Regions from separate parts of the Homo sapiens genome. Here region 1 is linked to region 2. The links are contacts of gene promoters, found by promoter capture Hi-C in human tissues and cell types (Jung and others, 2019). All regions are on one chromosome and are shown on one strand. Each heading gives the region's core, a stretch centred on a gene start or on the middle of the fragment in contact. The rest is flanking DNA. Distances are from core to core; before and after follow the strand shown. Region 1 overlaps RTN1 (reticulon 1). Region 2 holds the start of CCDC175 (coiled-coil domain containing 175).

Region 1 (2,700 bases), core at 48-2,547, 270 kb after region 2:
TTCGGCTCCACTGTGTCTCAATGTGGAAGTCTCCTTAACCTCCCATGCCTCACCGTATTCTACTCCTACCTTCCACATTGCTGGAGTGCTTTATAAACACAAATCTGAGAGGGCTTTTATATCACCAAAAATACCAAATTACTCTCTATTGTTAACAGAGAATAAAATCTAAAGTTCCTACTATGGCCTGTTCACCAACCCATTCTCAGCTACCCCTTCCCCAGGAAAATCTTGTCATGCATAGAACTACTACTTGTCCATATCTGATTATGCCAGCTTTACAAGTCTATTCCTTTGGACCCACTGAACCCTTTCCCTAGAAGAATCTCCCAAACCCCTACCACAATTTTCTGGCATATGACATCATTCAAGGCCCAGAAAAAGAAGCTATTTAGGCAGCTGCCATGGACAATTCTACATAGAACATGCTAGAGGAGAAAAAAAAAATCCTAAATTCCAGCATCATACATATCCGCACTATAGTAGATTAGGAACAGCAGAAGCTTGAACTCTAAACATACAGTTGATGAAGGCTCTGTATTTAAAAACCTGAGCTTGGAACAATTGCAGAAAAACAGTAATAACAACCCTGATGTCTGTAAGCAAACAGCCAGGGGTAGGTGGATCATTATAGGATGTCAACCAGGTAGGAATTGAAGACAAGGTCAACAATGTTACAGAATGAGGATGATGCAAGAAGAGAACCAGTACCACAGCTGTGACTTCTTCCTTACCCCACTGGTGCTTTTTTGTGGAAGAAGAAACAGAATGAACTGAGATGATAAATCCTGGCCCATCTGCTGCTTGTGTCCCTCCTCCTTGCTCACCTACAGCAGACATCACTCATTAATCCCGGCATTCTTTCCACAGCACTCTTCTCATCCCAGCACCCATATCTGTGCAGCCACAGCCCATGGATCAGAGTTGATGTATGCACACGTGTGTACACACACACGTGTGTACCACACACATCCACACTCATCTGTCACTTTGTTCCTGAGGTCTCAGTATTCACCTCAGAGTCCCTACCCAGACACCCTTCTGTTCAGTGTTTCTCAGTGGTTACCAAGTAAGCATAATGGAAAAAGAAGAGTAAGTGTGTATCCCAAGGGCCTTTGGGTGTAGCCTACACCCATGACACAGGGAGTTTATTTAAAGTTTCACATTTTAAAACTATGTGTGCTTTTACTCCTTGATGCATACATTTATTTGTAATAAAACAGTGTTTTGAATGGCTTACTACTGGAGAAAATGGACTTTGTGTAGTCTGGCTCCAAGTGCCCCTTGGTTCGTAGCCAGGTGTCCGCATACCTGTTTGAGATGCACAGTCTGTCCAACTCTGACAGCCATATGCACTCTCAGAGAAGCAGCCACTTTGATGAGACTGATTTTGCTTGAGAACCAGGAATAATCTGGAGGCTTAAAGATAAATGCAAATGAAGAGCTCTGTACCCCTTCATCACCATTCTAGAAACCTAGTGTCTGAGAGGAAAAACAAAATTCCTAATTGAAAAAGTCAAAAAGGGAGAAATAACAGTTTTAAGTGGTGCTGTCCCTCTCTGAATAGCCTTCCCTATGCTTCATCTTGCTAATTTCTCATGCTTTAAAACTCACTTCCAGAACCTTTTCCAGTAAAAAGCTTTTTCTGACTTTCTCATCTGCTTAGATGCTTGATGTAGATCATGTACATACTTCTATCGTATTTCTTCACATAAAATATCATTGTTTCTTTATCTCCTTCATTAGACTATAACTTTCTTAAACCTTTATATCCACAAACATGTAGCATAATAGTATCTGGCAGGTAAGTGTATAACAATGAAAAATAGTCCCTATCTCTTTAGTATTGTTCCCCATAAGCCCTACATTATACAATATTTTTATCTACCAATAGTATTTTAAAGTACATAATGATTAACCAATGTTTCCATTTGACTAATAAAAGATGTTTTATCTGAGCATGTCCATAAACATAATAAATGGAAAATCCTTTTAAGTGTTAAAATTACTTGTTAATTTAGATTGTTGCTGTTTTGTTTTGCTCATGTGGGCTCATACAAGTTTTAGCTAAAGGTGTAAAACCCCAATATTTAAAATGTGTGTCATTTTCTAGTCATTCACAGGACTTGGTGCAAAACAATTATCTGCTTTCTATCATAAAATCATGGAATCCTGACAAAAGGAATACAAAGAACATTTGAAGTGATCAAGTTCGACTTCCCACTTAAAAAATATGCCTCCTTCTAAACCTCCCTGGTAAGTGATCATGAAGTCTCTGCTTGGACCCTTCCAGTGATGGAGAACGCCCTGCTTCATGCTACATGCTTTTTGGAATAGCTCTAACACCTGAACCCACAGCCTTTCCTGCATATGAAGAGACTGCAGAGGAAGCTGGCACAGATTGCCCAGCCCAGCAGTCAGGAAGTGGGCTCAGGGCCCGAATTTGTTTACAAATCCCACGTGAAGACTTTTAGCCAGGCCACTCTGCTGGAGACCTGAAATAATTTTTCTCACCAGGCCCAAACCTGCTTCTAAGCCCCACTTCATTAGAGCCTCTTTCATCTTAGCAACCACTTTCATCTTTCATCTGAGTAATGGCTCAGATTTTGAAGGCCTAGAGTTGAAGAGACCATAAAGTCTTCCTCTCCACAAACTAATGAAACATCAATTCACCATTATTATGCCTTTTATCTACAGAAA
Region 2 (2,859 bases), core at 259-2,758:
CCTATGAAATATGTTCTGAGTGTCTAGACATTAACAGAAAAATGTATTTGTACATAAGTACTAGGGTTGCATTGGCATGCCGATCTAGAGATCAAGTATGAAAAGAGTTCAAGGTTCTAGGTCTGTCATTGACAGTGACCTCAGATACATGTGAATAATTTAGGTCTTAATAACTTTAGGTCTCCTCAGTGGGTAACATTCCTTTTTTTTTTTTTTTTTTTTTTGAGACGGAGTCTCGCTCTGTCGCGCAGGCTGGAGTGCAGTGGCACCATCTCGGCTCACCACAACCTCTGCCTTCTGAGTTCAACGGATTCTCCTGCCTCAGCCTCCCGAGTAGCTGGGATTACAGACGTGCGTCACCACGCCCGGCTAATTTTTGTATTTTTAGTAGAGACGGGGTTTCACCATGTTGGCCAGGCTGGTCTCAAACTCCTGACCTCAGGTATCCACCCGCCTCGGCCTCCCAAAGTGCTGGGATTACAGACATGAGCCACCGCGCCCGGCCAACATTCTTCATGATAACATTTACCCAAGCATATTTGCTAAGAATTGTGAAATTAACCTAGCGCATTTAAGAAGGAAAATAAAAACTATCCCAAATTAATAGTAACATTGTAACATAAATCAATACGATTATCTTGAAGAAATGGGATGATTCTAGTGAAGCACTGAAATGTTTTGTTGTTTGGCCTAAACGGTTTTTGCACCGAACAAGAAACACCCTTTCTTGGATTGTCTTACCTTAAGCTTAAGTGACTTGATTACAGGTTCAGCTTTCTAACTGAAAAATACTTTAACCTGGCCCTATCCAAGGTCATTTTCTATTAGAATCTCCTAAACAACCCTTTACATCTAATTTTTCTTGCTCAACACAACAGAAGCCTCTTAAACACTCCCTTTCCTATTTGCTTGTTAAATTCTCCAGTTTGCCACGGCAAAATGTCGGAGGAAGTTAACTTGTAAAGGAACGGCAAGAAGAGAACTGAAATCGAAGGCATAATCTAAATGCAGGTGTGTAATCAGGTCGCAGGCATAGGGCAGTGGCTTGGGAGTCCCGGATTTGTCACCTCAGTAATTTAACTACTACTGAGGGTTGAGCGAAGTCACCTCAGCTGCGCTAGGGCAGGAGATCTGGGCACTTGGTCCCACCCGCCACCTCTCTCTCCCCAGCCTCCAAGGAGCGGGGAGAAGGCTCTGCCCTGCCCAGTGATGCCCTGGTTCCGGGAGGAGAGTCCCCGCTCAGGGTTCCCGCTGAGTGCCTCCTAAGCGCCACCTCTGAGGAGACGTCCCTTCCAGCGCCCGAGGGGCGTCTTACCCACAACAAACAGCTGCTCCAGCGCCTCGACCGCGACCGAGGAGCCCAGGGTGGAGGGTAAGGTGCATAACTCCAGGGAGGGGCCAGTGGAGACGGCAGCCGCCTGCACCAGCTTCTCGCCAGCGCCCAGCCCTGGGGTCCAGGGGCTCAGGGCCATTTTGCCGCTCTACTTGAGCGCCTCCTAAGCCAGAGCCAAGGATTGCCGGTTGCCACGGGCAACGAGGACACCGAGGTCGTGGGGCGCCCCCTCGTGGCCCGCACCTCTAGTAGGTACCCTCCTGGTTCTCTAATTTTATCCACGATAATTAAGCAGTCTGGGAAGAATGACTCTCTCTTTAGCTAATTTTTCCCCTTTCAATTTCCATTGCGTTAGTTCAGGCCTGTATCTTTTTTGTGGGCCACTGGAATCATAATAATGATCACTTTTGAGCGCATCTTTGTGCCGGATACTGCAGGAGAACCTTTATATACAGTAGCTCACTTAATCTTCACAAGGACTTTGTGAGCAGGCTCTTTTAGTACCTCCACTTTTACAGACACGTAAACTGAGGCGCGGGCGACTAAATGAACGGCTCAAGACCACAAGAGGATAATATTGGATTTAAAGTGACGTCTGGGCCGGGCGAGGTGGCTCACGCCTGTAGTCCCAGCACTTTGGGAGGCCAAGGCGGGAGGATCACCTGTGGTCATGAATTCAAAACCAGCCTAATCAACATGGTGAAACCCCATCTCTACTAAAAATACAAAAATTAGCCGGGCGTGGTGGCGCGTGCCTGTAGTCCCAGCTACTCAGGAGGCTGAGGCAGGACAATCGCTTGAACCCGGGAGGAAAAGGTTATAGTGAACCGAGATCTCGCCATTGCACTCCAGCCTGGGCGACAAGAGCTAAACTCCATCTCAAAATAATAAAATAAAATAATAAAGTGAAGTCTGTATGACTCTTTCTACTATGCTACAAAACCTTCTTTTGTACTAATTTAGAACTTTCCTTGTATCTAGTACATCACTGAGCACATTTTGCCTTGAATCATAGTGATTTTTCTCTGTCTTCCCATCGAACTGTGAGCTCTGTGATGACGGGGACAGGAGGATATTATTCATTTTTCTCTGCATCTCCAAAATTCAGCTTAGCATGAGGCTTAGGTTGAGTCTGTCAGTTCCTTTTCCTCTGGTGGGTTAGAGAGAAGCAAAGGTGATTCAACCCTCCTCTTCTTTTCTCTACAGATGGCAAAATTGAAATTAGAATGATAGTAACAATGACAATAGCTATCAATTGTTAAATGCTTATTTTGTTCCAGGCACTGTTTTAAATACTTTGCAGTACCCCATTTAACCCTCACAAATAATCTTTTGAGCTAGGTATTATTGCCTGCTTTGCAAGTGAGGGCACTGAGCTACATCCTAAACCACTGTGCAACACTGCCTTGGAGGGGACACAGCATACCAGTAGCAGAACTAGTTCTAGAATCCAGGCCTCCTTCATCCAGGGAGTGCCATATTTTGGTGTTGGAAACCATCCTGGACAACATCCTCCTTTTTTGCTG

Evidence for each region. The method cuts DNA at HindIII sites, captures the fragments that hold promoters and counts their contacts. A contact is called where the count stands out against the background at its distance.
Region 1: a contact is called between a fragment that was not itself captured here and the fragment with the promoter of CCDC175 in region 2, in 1 of the 25 tissues and cell types used here (spleen).

The regions. Positions count from the first base shown.
Region 1 is chr14:59,845,477-59,848,176 of GRCh38, forward strand. All of the region lies in intron 1 of RTN1 (reticulon 1), which reads right to left. Among named protein-coding and RNA genes, the nearest start is that of RTN1, 24 kb to the right of the region's middle. The HindIII fragment of the contact is 3,188 bases long and covers 1-2,700 here.
Region 2 is chr14:59,575,304-59,578,162 of GRCh38, forward strand. CCDC175 (coiled-coil domain containing 175) reads right to left here and starts at 1,509. Exons shown (of 20, transcript NM_001164399.2): 1 at 1,316-1,509. The coding sequence starts at 1,472. The HindIII fragment of the contact is 13,786 bases long and covers 1-2,859 here.